2 separate regions of the Homo sapiens genome follow, and region 1 is linked to region 2. Evidence: promoter capture Hi-C in 16 types of primary human blood cells and fetal thymus (Javierre and others, 2016). All regions are on one chromosome and are shown on one strand. The core of a region is centred on a gene start or on the middle of the fragment in contact, and the rest is flanking DNA. Distances in the headings are between cores, read along the strand shown.

The links. Contacts are between HindIII fragments. The CHiCAGO score rates a contact against its expected background, and 5 or more counts as called.
Region 1: a fragment that was not itself captured here is called in contact with the fragment with the promoter of NFAM1 in region 2 in 7 of 17 cell types (activated CD4 T cells, non-activated CD4 T cells, total CD8 T cells and 4 more); the score reaches 10.4 in activated CD4 T cells.

The regions. Positions count from the first base shown.
Region 1 is chr22:42,018,659-42,026,097 of GRCh38, forward strand. WBP2NL (WBP2 N-terminal like) reads left to right here. Exons shown (of 6, transcript NM_152613.3): 2 at 653-761; 3 at 1,004-1,145; 4 at 1,346-1,438; 5 at 3,591-3,698. Among named protein-coding and RNA genes, the nearest start is that of WBP2NL, 24 kb to the left of the region's middle. The HindIII fragment of the contact is 8,673 bases long and covers 1-6,604 here.
Region 2 is chr22:42,427,883-42,434,494 of GRCh38, forward strand. NFAM1 (NFAT activating protein with ITAM motif 1) reads right to left here and starts at 4,521. Exons shown (of 6, transcript NM_145912.8): 1 at 4,355-4,521. The coding sequence starts at 4,475. The HindIII fragment of the contact is 8,354 bases long and covers 1-5,148 here.

The sequences.
Region 1 (7,439 bases), core at 1,018-3,517, 410 kb before region 2:
TTTACCAGCGTCAAAGAACCATTTCTATTAGCACAGTGCTTTACACTTACCGCACAAGAAGTATAAGAATTAATGAACACACATTGAGAATAGGAGTAGGTTTGACAAGAAAAAGAATCCAATGATGAAGAGGGAGAAGAATAAGAGTAAATTGTCAGAGAATAAGATCATTTGAATTCCTTTTTATTTCAATAAAATAGTAGTAGTAGTAATAGTAGCAGTAGCAGCAGCTAATGTTTATTGAGTGCTTACTCTGGAAAAAAAAAAAAAAAAACTACATTAAGGGCCGGGCACGGTGGCATGCCTGTAATCCCAGCACTTTGGGAGGCTGAGGCGGGCGGATCACAAGGTCAGGAGATCGAGACCATCCTGGCTAACAGTGAAACCCCCATCTCTACAAAAATACAAAAAAATTAGGCAGGCATGGTGGCGGGCGCCTGTAGTCCCAGCTATTTGGGAGGCTGAGGCAGGAGAATGGTGTGAACCCGGGAGGCGGAGCTTGCAGTGAGGTGAAATCGTGCCACTGCACTCCCGCCTGGGCAACAGAGTAAGACTCTGTCTCAAAAAAAAAAAAAAATTGCGTTAAGAACTTTATGTGTGTCATTTTACATACATTCTTTATTGTGTGCCGTCTGTTCCTCATTTTCTACAGTCTCTTGAAGCGGTCTCCGAATGTGGAGCTCTCCTTCCCACAGCGATCAGAAGGCTCAAATGTCTTTAGTGGTAGAAAGACAGGAACATTGTTTCTCACTTCATACCGGGTAATTTCTACTTCTACTTTAATCTGCTGATTAACTCTACATTTGTTTTCCTTGAAATGAAGAAAACTTAAACATTGACTTTTGAAGTGTTTTTAAACGTGCGCTTTGGGATTTTCCACACTGAAGGGTGGTGGAAGAAAAGATGATGTTTCTCAGTTAGACCAGAATGCACCTTGCTCTTGTAAGTCTCAATCCATGGACAAATTCTGCATTCCTTTTCCAAAGTTTCTGTCCTTGCGTAGGTGATTTTCATAACTTCATGCTCCATCAGTGATCCCATGTTGTCTTTTATGATGCCATTTGATCTGATGACGAACCTCACTGTTGAACAACCAGTATTTGCTGCAAACTTCATTAAGGGAACTATTCAGGCAGCTCCATATGGTAAGTGTTCCCTCAGAAGTGTGTATTTTTTTTTCCCTCAAAATCTTCTAAAAGGTTTAAGATTCAAACTTGGCTCATGTTGAAATTCAAACAAAAGCTGCCCTACTTTGTCAGGTAGTGCTTCCCTTGGTGTTTGTGGCAGTCTTTCTGTTGTCAGCTATGCCAGTTTCTTGGTGAGTGTGTGCCATTTCTTCCCCCAGGTGGCTGGGAAGGACAAGCTACTTTTAAATTAGTCTTCAGAAATGGAGATGCCATTGAATTTGCCCAGTTGATGGTGAAAGCTGCCTCTGCTGGTAAGTGATGCTGATAAAGATATTAAGCACTTTGGGGTTTTTTGTTTGTTTGTTTGGGTTTTTTGTTGTTGTTGTTGCTGTTGTTGTTGTTTTGTTGTTTTTGAGACAGGGATTTTTGTATTTTTGTAAGTCGGGGTTTCACCATGTTGCCCAGGCTGGTCTCGAACTCCTGAACTCAAATGATCCTCTTGCCTCAGCCTCCCGAAGTGCTGGGGTTACAGGTATGAGCCACCATGCCCAGCCCACTTTGGGGTTTTAAGGCTTGTGGAATTAAAGCAGGACTTCTACTCAGCCAAGATTTGCTGGCCTTTGTGGCCAGGCAGTTGGTATTCGCACACATATTCAGCAGGCATTTCCTGGGCCTACCTACAATTGTCAAGTACCATGTTACAGGGTAGGAACACAAAGATTATTCAGTCCCTTCCTATCCTGAAGGAGCTTGCAATCTAGTGGGAGCTTACAGCCAGACACCCAGGTGACTAATTATACCTGATAGTCTTTTGTCCATTTAAACACTGACCTCAGATATCTACTGAGCGTCTCTTCCTTGGGTCAGGGAGCCCTTAGTTATTCTTTCTTTGGTGTGGCTTTTTAGTTTTTCTTCTCTCTGGACTTGCCTTTGCTTTTCTCAGGTTTAGTCCCCATCTTACATGAGAGGGGAGTAGAGGTACTGTCAAGACTTATAGCACTGATCTAATGGATGTACCACAGAACTCTTTCAAACTGTGACTACAAATAATTTTTTTATCTCATATATGTGTGTGTGTGTGTGTATATATATATATATATATATATATATATATATATATATATTTTTTTTTTTTTTTTTTTTTTTTTTTTTGAGACAGTGTCTTGCTTTGTCACCCAGGCTGGAGTGCAATCATGCAATCTTGGCTCACTGCAACCTCCACCTCCCGGGTTCAAGTGATTCTCCTCCCTCAGCCTCCCAAGTAGCTGGGATTACAAGTGTCCACCACCAAGCCCAGCTAATTTTTGTATTTTTAGTAGAGACGGGGTTTCACCATGTTGGTCAGGCTGGTCTCGAACTCCTGACCTCAGGAGATCCACCTGCCTCAGCCTCCCAAAGTGCTGGGATCACAGGCGTGAGCCAGCACGCCTGGCCGGTCCTTGCGATCTTTAACCCATGGCTTCCATGGCCTCTTTGTACAGCCAGCAGAGAAGGAAATAAAGATCTCCCCTGGGAAATTTTTATGGGCCAGGCCTGGAAACTGTCTACATTACATCTGGTCACATGCCATAGGCAAAACTCAGTGTGGTAGGCTGATAATGGATCCCCAGATATATCCCCATCCCAATCCTCAGAATCTGTGACTGTTACGTTATTTGTAAAAAGGGTGTTTGTAGACGTAATTAATTTAAGGATCTTGAGATGACAAGATTACCCTAGATTATTTAGGTGGCCTCTAAATGCCATCACAAGTGTTCTTATAAGAGAGATGCAGAGGGGAGACAAGACAAAAGTGTTTTCTTCGGTACCACACTTCCTCACATTGGTCTTTAATGGATATATCTTACCAACTTGGTAGAATCCTCACTTAGAAGTTTTTTCTGAATATCTGTTATGATTAGGTGCTATGCTAGGCCTGGAATAAGCACAGGCAAATGAGATACAATCTCTGCCCTTAAGACACGTGCCATTCAGGACAAGGGTCATATTTCTTTTCTTTCTTTCTTTTTTTTTTTTTTTTTTGAGACAAGGTCTTACTCTGTCACCCAGGCTGGAGGCTCCAGTGCAGTGGCACAGATAAGGCTCACTGCAGCCTCAAATTTCCAGGCTCAAGCAATCCTCCTGCCTCAGCTTCCTGAGTAGCTAGGACCACAGGCATGCACCACCATGCCTGGCTAATTTTTAAAAAATTTTTTGTAGAGATAGGGTCTTGCCATGTTGCCCAGGCTGGTCTTGAACTCCTGGGGTCAAGCAATCCTCCCATCTTGGCCTCCTAAAATGTTGGGATTACAGGTGTGAGCCACTTCACCCAGCCCATGTTTCTTTTTTATCTTGTGTCTCAAGAGCATTGTTGGAAACACATGTAAGGTGGTGATTAAATACTCTGTTAATTGTTTAGTTGATATCTGCTATATATCTGACTTAATTAAAAGAGTTCCTATTTTGCCAAATTTGTCTTTCCAGCTGCCCGAGGATTTCCACTTAGAACCTTAAATGACTGGTTCAGCTCTATGGGAATTTATGTAATTACTGGGGAAGGGAATATGTGCACTCCACAGATGCCTTGTTCAGGTAAGGTATGGCAGAGAGGTTCTTCCTGGAAGGTGGAAAATTATGCCAGAGGCTCAAAGATCTATCCCTTGCAGGCTTGCTCCCTGCAGGAGCAGCAGCAGAGCTTTAGGGGCTTGGAAAATGGTCACATCTGTGACTTTGTTTCCAGACTGAAACCCAGTGGCAAAGTCAGCAAGTGACTGGGCTTTGGTTTCAGGCTTACTTTTAATGATATATACAAACCTGGAACATACTTGGCAATCCTGTTAGTGGGAAGGGTCACTTCCTGTTTATAGCCTGAGCAGAAAATATATGCTCTTGCCCACTTCCTTGTTTCCATTTCACATAGCATAGTCATCATACCTGTGCCACACCCTTCAACCTTACTGAGGACTCGAGCCCTGGGTCCTTTAACAGTTTGTGTTGTTAAAGTCCACTGCTACTGAATGGGGTTTCTGGAAAGTAATTCTCAAACATGGTCCACTGCCTACTGGTGGGCCACCAAGGGTCTCCTAATGCTGCCAACACACACAAAAATATGGGACTTTTCTTGAGTTCTCCTTGGAACTTGATATGCATGTCCATGGGCCTTTAGTTTTGTATGTAACTTAAAGGCTACTTATTTGTAACCTTAATAGGTACCTTGGTTTTTAAAGGTTATTACAGTCTAATATTCAGAATCTAAAGTAATTGTTGCTAGGGTTTAACATTTTTTCAGTTGGTGAAATTCACATAACATATAATTAACATTTTAATGTGTACAATTCAGTGGTATTTAGTGTAAAATTTAGCAGTATTTGACGTATTCACAATATTATACATCCACCAGCTGTCTCTAGTTTCAAAAAGTGGTGTTTTTTTTTTTTGGAGACAGAGTCTCACTTTGTCACCCAGGCTGTAGTGCAGTGGCACTATCATGGCCCCCTGCAGCCTCGACCCCCTGGGCTCAAGCGATCCTCTTACCTCAGTACCCCCCAACCAGAGTAGGCTAGGACCACAGGCGCAATCCACCATGCCCGGCTAATTTTTATGTGTTTTTGTAGAGACAGAAATCTCCCTATGTTGTCCAGGCTGGTTCTGAACTCCTGGCCTCCAGCCATCTGCCCGCCTTGCCCTCCCGAGGTGCTGGGATTATAGGCATGAGCCATCTCTGGCAGCCTTTTTTGTTTTTGTTTTTGTTTTTTTGAGAGGGAGTCTTGCTCTGTCGCCCAGGCTGGAGTGCAGTGGCGCGATGCAAGCTCCACCTCCCGGGTTCACGCCATTCTCCTGCCTCAGCCTCCTGAGTAGCTGGGACTACCGGCGCCCGCCACCACGCCCGGCTAATTTTTTTTTTGTATTTTTAGTAGAGACGGGATTTCACTGTGTTAGCCAGGATGGTCTCGATCTCCTGACCTTGTGATCCGCCCGCCTCAGCCTCCCAAAGTGCTGGGATTACAGGCTTGAGCCACCACACCCAGCCCCTGCCAGCCTTTTTTTTTAAAAAAATTTTGTAGATACAGGGTCTCACTGTGTTGCTTAGGCTGGTCTCACACTCCTGGGCTCAAGCAAGTCTATTGCCTTGGCTTCCCAAAGTGCTGGGATTACAGGTGTAAGCCACAGCATCTGGTCTGGTTTCAAAACTTTTTATCACCTAATAGCCACTAAGAAGTTATTCCCCATTGTCCCCTCTCTGATCCCCTGGTATCCTCTAATCTGCTTTCTGTCTTTATTGATTCACCTATTGTGAATATATCACATAAAAGAAATCATACAATATGTGACCTTTTGTGTTTGGCTTATCTCACTCAAGATAACGTTTTTGAGGTTCCTCCAAGTTGTAGCATGTAGCAATACTTCATTTCTTTTCCTGGCTGAATAATACTCCATTGTACATATATACCACAATTTGTGTATTCATTCCTCCATTGATGGACATTTGTCTTGTTTCCACCTTTTGGCTATTACGAATACTAGCTGCTATGAGCATTTGTATATAATTTTCTACGTAGACATATGTTTTCATTTCTCCTGGATATGCATCTTGGAGTGGAATTTCTGGGTCATATGTAAATTCTCTAACTTTTTGAGGAACCACCAACTATTTTCCAGTGCTGCACTATTTTACATTCCTGTGTAAATGTAAGTGTTCCTATTTCTACACATCCTCAGCAACACTTATCTTCCTTTTTTTAAAAAAAAAAATCTATATTAAAGCCATTCTAGTGGGTATGAAGTGGTATCTCATTGTGGTTTTAATTTGCATTTCCTTAATGACTAATGATGTTGAACATCTTTTAATGTGCTTTTTATATACCTTAATTGGAGAACTGTCCAAGTCTTTTGCCTATTTTTTTTATTATTTAAATCGGATTGCTTGTCTTTTTGTTGTTGAGTTGTAAGCATTCTTTATATAGTCTGGATATGAAATCCTTGTCAGATATATTATTTGTAAATATTTTTAGGTTTTCTTTCACATTCTTGATAATGACTTTTTTTTTTTTTTTTTGAGACAAAGTCTCCCTCTGTCACCCAGGCTGGAGTGCAGTGGCGCCATCTTGGCTCACTGCAATCTCTGCCTCCCGGGTTTAAGTGATTCTTGTGCCTCAGCCTCCTGAATAGCTGGGACTGCGGGTGTGTGCCACCCTGCACAGCTAATCTTTGTATTTTTAGTAGAGATGTAGTTTCACCATGTTGTTCAGACTCATCTAGAACTCCTGAGCTCAAATGATCTGCCTGCCTCGGCCAGTGGGTTACAGGTGTGAACAACTGTGCCCAGGCAAAAATGGCTTTTAATGCACAAAGGTTTTTAATTTTTATCAGATTTCTCTTTTTTCCTCTTGTTGCTCATGCTTTTGATGTAAAATGTGAGAATTCGTTGCCAAATCCAATGTCATGAAGATTTATCCCTGTTTTCTTCTAAGCATTTTATAGTTTTAGCTCTTATATCAAGCTTGTCCAACCCATGGCCCAGGATGGCTTTGAATGCAGCCCAACACAAATTCATAAACTTTCTTCAAATGTTATGAGATTTTTAAAAATAGCTCATCAGCTATCGTTAGTGTTAGTATATTTTATATGTGGCCCAAGACAATTCTTCACCAATGTGGCCCAGGGAAGCCAAAAGATTGGCCACCTCTGTTTTATATTAAGGCCATTGATTCACTACAAGTTAATTTTTATCTGTAGAGTGAAGTGAGGGAAGAACCTCATTCTTTTACGTGCAGATATCCAGTTGTCCCAGAATCATTTTTTGAAGAGACTGTTTTTTTCCCATTGAATGGTCTTGGCATTCTGTCAAAAATCAACTGTTCATAGATGCTTGGGTTTATTTCTGGACTCTTAATTCATTCCATTGGTCTCTAAGTCTGTCCTTGTGCCAGTAAAACACTGTCTTGATTACAGTAGTTTTGTAATAAATTTTGGATTAAAGCAAAATAACTTTACAGCTGTCCATTCACTTTATCCAGTTAAATCACTTTGGGGAATGTAACCCAAGGTAATAAGTAAAACTCATGTTTATTGTAAGGTTAATTGGAAAGTCAGAAACAACAAAAAGAGTCATCTATCCATATGATGAAATATTATCCAGCTTTGAATTTATGAAGTAAATTAACAATATGAAGACATTTCTTATAATATTAAGTAAAAGAGCCAGATTTAAAAAATCATATGGCTGGCCGGGCGCAGTGGCTCACGCCTGTAATCCCAGCACTTTGGGAGGCCGAGGCGGGTGGATCATGAGGTCAGGAGATCGAGACCATCCTGGCTAACATGGTGAAACCC
Region 2 (6,612 bases), core at 3,271-5,770:
GGTGGGGCACGGAGCGGGGCAGTGTCTGTGGGGCGAGGGGAGTAGAAGGGGCTCTGAGGCACTGGGATGTTCTCATTCTTGACCTGGTGAGAGTCACACAGGACTTTGTTTTCTAGTGCTTACCACGCAGCACTGCGGTTTTTGTGCGATAGTTCACCATGACAGAGGAGACAGCAGTGAGACAGGACCCGCTGGGAGTGTGCCCGGACCCCTACCTGAGGGGCATTTGTGATCCACCCAACCACAATCTGCATCCCACTCCTGTGTCAGACTTCCCCTGCCGTCAAGCTGAGCCTCTCCCGGCCCTCCTGGCCCTGCCTTTTGGGCTCTCAGCCCTCATTCCCTCAGCCACCTCCCGCTCTGTCCCCACTCCGCGGGCAGCCTTTCCAGCACTCCCCTGCCTCTCCCCGCCCACCTCTGCCTGTGCCTCGAAAGTCCTTTATTGGGATTTAGACAAAGATGAAAAACAGAGGCTACTCCTGACAGAGGTCCGGAGCGGCGGGAAGGGAGGCAGGAGGTCTCAGCCGGGAGCAGGCAGGGGCTCCTGAACATCTTTTTTTATTATTATTACTTTTTTGAGACAGAGTCCTGCTCTGTCACCCAGGCTGGAGTTCAGTGGCACGATCTCAGCTCAGTGCAGCCTCTGCCTCCCAGGTTCAAGCAATTCTCCTGCCTCAGCCTCCTGAGTAGCTGGGATTACAGGCGCACACCACCTGGATCCAGAACAAACTTGTCTGGTAACTCCGGCCAAGGCTCACGGTCCCACCAGGCTGAGAGTGGGGCCTATGGCTTGTTCACGTCTGGGTCCCTCTGGTGCCTAGAACCGGTCCTTTTCAATGGATATGTGAGAAATAAATACAGCCCAGAGTTCTGGAAAGGCCACAGAGAGGGGACTGACATTTGCAGAGGACACTAAGGTGCAGAGAGGTTAAGTAATTGCCTGAGGTCACACAGCTGTCACCAGAAGAAGGCAGGCCTGGAACTCAGGTCTGTCCAGCCCCAAAGTCCTTGGGGAGGACTGAGGCCCATGGAAGCTGAGTTGCAGCTGCTCCTGGAAAAGCCAAGCCCCCAGCAATTCCTGTCTTGGGGAGACCACCAGTGGCTGCCTTTGAGAAAAGCAGGCTTTGCAGAGGGGTCAAGAAGCCAGAGGACAGGCCCAAGTCCCGGCTCAAGTGGGAGGAGGAGGATGGCTGGGAGCAGGAGCAGGTACCCAGGATGAGCTGGAGGCCGTGGGCTCACCAACTGCACCTCAAGTTTCCATGGCTCTGGCGAGGCTGGCAGGTGGCTGACACTCACTGAGGACTAATGACATACTGGGCACTCAGTCCTCAGGATGTGTTTAGGCAGGCAGTGTTATCACATCCATTTAACAGAGGAGACAATTGAGGCATAGCGATAGAAGTAATCTGCCCAGGGTGCCTGGGCAAGTAGCAGAGCTCAAATTCAAACTGGGCCGGGTGCGGTGGCTCACGCCTGTAATCCCAGCACTTTGGGAGGCCAAGGTGGGGGGATCACCTGAGGTCAGGAGTTCGAGACCAGCCTGGCCAACACGGTGAAAACCTGACTCTACTAAAAATACAGAAATTAGCCAGGCATGGTGGTGGGTGCCTGCAATCCCAGCTACTCAGGAGGCTGAGGCAGGAGAATCGCTTGAACCTGGGAGGCGGAGGTTGCAGTAAGCCGAGATGGTGCCACTGCACTCCAGCCTGGGCAACAGAGCGAGACTCCGTCTCAAAATAAATAAATAAATAAAAAATCAAACTGAAGATGAATGCCCCTGGCCTGTACTCCTAAGCCAGCATCCTCTCGCAAGTTCAGGGATACGATGCAGAATCAGGGACGCTGGCCTTCAGTGACACCCCTGTGGACACAGCTGAGGGATGCAAGCTGGGTTGGTACTGACAGGTGGCAGAGCTGGTTGCACCAGGCTGATGGTTAAGGCTGATGGTTACGGTCAGGGGAGGTTTGGAAGATGTGGGAGGGGCAAGATTCCTTCCAGCAAACCCTCAAAGCTCTGAGACGAGAAGGCAGGGGTGTGACATGGAGTGACAGATAGATGAAGGGGGATGCACAGGGGTAGGACAAAGAGCGGGTTGGGGGTTGGGCACAGTGGCTCACGCCTGTAATCCCAGCACTTTGGGAGGCCAAGGCGGGTGGATCACCTGAGGTCAGGAGTTCGAGACCAGCCTGGGCAACACTGTGAGTCTCTATCTCTACGAAAAAATTTAAAAAATAGCTGGGTGTGGTGGCACACGCTGTGGTTCCAGTTATTCGGGAGGCTGAGGTGGGAGGATCATTTGAGTGAGGGAGGCAGAGGTTGTAGTGAGCTGAGATTGCACCACTGCACTCCAGCCTGGTGGACGGAGCGAGACCCTGTCTCAAAAAAATAAAAACAGGACGGGCACAGTGGCTCACGCCTGTAATCCCAGCACTTTGGGAGGCTGAGGCGGGCAGATCACCTGCGGTCAGGAGTTCAAGACCAGCCTGGCCAACATGGCAAAACTCTGTCTCTACTAAAAATACAAAAATTAGCTGGGCATGGTGGTGGGCACCTGTAGTGCCAGCTACTCGTGAGGCTGAGGCAGGAGAATCACTTGAACCCAGGAGGCAGAGGTTGCCGTGAACCAAGATGGCGCCATTGCACTTCAGCCTGAGTGACAAGAGTGAAACTCTCAAAAAAAAAAAAAAAAAAAAAAATCATGGGTGGGGGTTTGTCTGCTGCTCCAAGGGACTCTAGGACACCGTAAGGGTGTTTTCACCTCTTGTGAAAGAACAGTTTCTCTTTTATGTAATGTTTGTTGCAATACCGGGTGGGAGGGGGTGGCACTGGGAATGTTTTGTTATAGTTGAGACTGTTACAAAAGAGCTTTTCCCCAGTAGCACCCCATAAAACCTCTTACTGCTCGGTTACCAGGGTGTGCTGGGTGTCTTTTGGGGAGGAGGAACCACACAAAGGGAAAGGATGGGAATTGGGGGGAAATTAAATTAAAAATGACTGTAGTTGAGACACATTGACACTAACAGGCTGCATTTCCGGGGTCTGGCCGTGTTTGCACCAACTGTCTGGGGTGTGGGGCGAGGCGTGCACAGGATTAAAGGAGATGGTGTCCTAGGGCTCTGGGCTGCAGCCTGGGGAGGTACACACAGGTCAGCCTTTGCCTCCCCAGGGTAAGTTTCCGGTGAAGAACATTCTTTACAAGTAAGAGGATCCTCTGAGCCTACTGGCCGAGGGGCCCAGCTTGGGGCTGAGGCTGGCCTGGGGCTGAGGCTGGCCTCTACTTACCGGCTAGGTCTTGAGCAAACGAACTGGCTTCCCTGGGCCTCCTTTTCCCTGTCCTTAAAATGGTGCAGGTGAGGACAATAGGAGCCCCAAGGGGTGCTGTGAGGGTGGCCAGTACGTGCCCTGCTAAGGGCTCCATAAAGCCTAATTTGTGGTCATGAGAGGGGGTGCAGCAGGACAGGGTGGGGGCAGCTCTTGAAAGCCCCATAAACTAAGAGAATAGAAAGGAAGGCACCCTGTCTCCACAGTGGAGGCCACCCCTTTGGCCAGAGGGAGGGTTGGCTGCTGCCCGGCCAAGGAGGGGCAGAGAGAATCTGGCAGAATTCACTGAGCCCTCGTGCTGGCAGCCCTGGAATGGGACCCTCCTGGGCCGTCCCTGGCCTGATGAACTGGCCCTGAGGCTACCTACCCCACAGCTTGGCTCGGATCCCGGCCACCCAGCTTCCAAGAAAGCCTGGAACCAGGAAAGGAGCGCCGCTGGCGTGGAAAGACACACTTGCATCCTAAAACACTTGGCCTCTGGTTGTGTTTCAGGAACTGGGAGGTGAGACCCTTTCTGGTGACTGACAGTTTTGTGCCTCTGGGCGCAGAGCCCTGTGGCTGGCCCTGGTATCCCCCCCTCCCCCCTCTCCCCGCTCTCCCTGGCCAATGCCAGCAACAACCCAGAGGGTAGCCCCACCACTTGCCAGGTTCAACGCAGTGTCCCCCGCAGCAGCCACGTGAGGTTCCTCGGATGGGGAGCTGTCCCTCCCCCCTGCCCCGCCCCTGGCCCCAGCCACACAGCGCCCACCCTCCTTGTTTAAGGGCCAGGAGGCCAGACTGCTGGGGCAAAGCTGTCACAGCAGCGAGGGAGAGAGCGCTGTCCCCCTCCCCTTCAAAAGCCACCTTGGCAAGGCATTAGCTAAACATCTTCTCGGTCCCAGAAGGCTTCCCCTGTGAAGTCTGCAGCGTTCAAACGACAACCAGCAAATCCCCAGAGACAGGTCCCTGGGAATTAGCTGCGCCGGGCGGGATGAAAGCCGCTCTGATGTTCTGGAGCGAGAGAGTAGAGAGAAGGAGGAAGACAGACACTACCTGCCAGTCGCAGGGTCCCGGGCAGCAGCAGCACGCCAAGGAGGAGCCAGGGGGCTGCGGGGAGCCCAGGAGGGCGTGGGAGGCCTGGCAGGGCCCGCCACCTCACAGGCTGGTTCTCCATCTGGGGGCCTGCTTGTCTGCGGCGACTCTTTAGTTCACAGGAGGGGACGGCCGGCGCTGACAGCTTCCCCTTTGCTTTCCCCACGAAGCTCCTCCCTGGCAGCCCCTGACCTTCCGCTCAGAAGCAAAGCTGGAACAGCCCAGCAGGGTGGCCGCCAGATGAGGAACCTGGCACTGAGACTGGTCCAGGCCACACAACCAGAAGAAGAGCTGGAGACGGGACCCAAGCCTCCCCACTCCAACCCCTGGTGGGCTTCACCCTGTCTCGGCCCCTTTCCAGCAGGGGCCCCGTCCAGGAGACACTGGTAACTGTGCAGAGGGATCATGGGATTTCCATGAGTGACTTCGGGCCTTGGTTTAGCCTCTCACTTCTGAAACACTTTTAAAACGACCACAAGCATGTTCACACAAACTTCTCTAAAATATTCTGAGAATCCCTTAATAATGTGTTTACCAAAGGTAGGTTTTTTGGTGAGGGGTGGTAGGGAGGCTGGGGTGAAGGGCAGGAGCCTCATGTTCCCAGCCCTAGAGAGGGCCAAACACCCAGGGCAGGTGAAAGGCAGGCTGCCCATCATTCACCCAGCGAGAACCTCTGTGGGTCCCCTGCAGAGGCCCAGGAGACGCCTCCTCTCTGGTCCATCTCTAACGTCAGCTCCTCCCTGTGGCTGCCCTAAAGCTTAGCTCACTCGGCCTCCCAACTGTGAGACCCTCGAACTGCTTCCCCATTGGCTGCAGGTCACAGCCCCTGCTCTCACTTCTAGCAGCATCAGCCGGGGACAGGAATTGTTTGCTGCCGGGACCCCCTTCCCCAGCAGACTGGGAGCCCCTCACCCTTGGCACCCACACATCTGCCTGCGTGTCTGGAGTGGCAGAGGAAAGGGGCTGGGGTGTGGTGATGGCTGGTGGAGCTGGAGGCACCTGGTACATGGAAGACGCAGGCGGGAAGGTGGCTGAGTTTCAGCGCATGCTGAGCGCTTACCTCCCTTCTCTGCAGGTGTCCCTTCACTCACCAGATAAATGTGATGATCCCAGTTGTACAAAAGAGAAGACCTCGGCCCCAGGAGGCAAAACAACATGCCTAGGATCAGGGCAGGTCTGTGGGGCGGGCATTTGAACTGCCAGTGGTATGATGTCCGAGCCTTCTCCCACCCTGCTACTGCCTGCTCAGGTGTGTCCAGCTGCAGCCCCCGGTGACGGCATCATGAGATCCATTTCAGTTCTTTGCACACATGCTTTTCCCTGGGCTGCTCCAAACATGAACAGTGAAAGCCTAAAGACGTTTCCACCAATGCCACGAGCACTGGGAGGCTGGCAAGAGCAGGGGCCGCCCACCAGGGGAGGAAGACATATGAACAGGAGAAGTTTCCTACCGCGCAGGGGGCAGGCGGGGACCCCAGTGTTATTGACTGTTGATCCATCACAGTGATACATGCTCACATATGTCACAGTGAGATGCAGACCCGCTGCTTCACGCTATTCCTGGCTCCTGGGAGTAGCAGGTTGTCTAAGCACCTTGATGCCATGGTGATAGACCTCGTGTCAATGCCTCAGGGTACACGGGGAGCATTGGAAAAGCATCGGTCTGTGCCTCTACAAGTCTCATTACGACTTGGCACTGGGAGGCAGCTGAATGCCAAACTGCCTCGGAACAAGGGAGCCTGCTCTTCCAGCCCTGGTGCCGCCTCCGCTCCTGCCCCTGTGCCAGCTCACTGACCCTACCTCTCAGCCTGTCACGGTGCCCCCCACACCCCAACTCTGTACCTCGGACTCCCGGGAGTTCTGCCGCCTCTGAGTCTGGGTCTAGCCTGCTGCACACCTGGTTTCCACGCTTGCCTGCCTGAGCTGCCTGTCTTCCTCCCCTCTCCTTCTTGAGCCTGGCCCAGGGGGTGCAGGAATGGACGGATGGGTGAGCATAAGGCAGGGAGAAGCCTTCCTCCAGGCTTGATATGAAGGCAGGTGCCCAACACCACGCTGGTGCACAAGAGGCCTCAAGGGAAGGGGTAGCCTCTGGGAGGCAGGGTGGGAGGAGGCGTGCATACTCCCCAGGCAGGCCCTGGGCTGTGGAGCGCAGACATGACTGGACAAGAAGCAGCTGAGGGTCCCAGCTCATTGCCCAGTTTCTGAGACGCTCTGCAGCC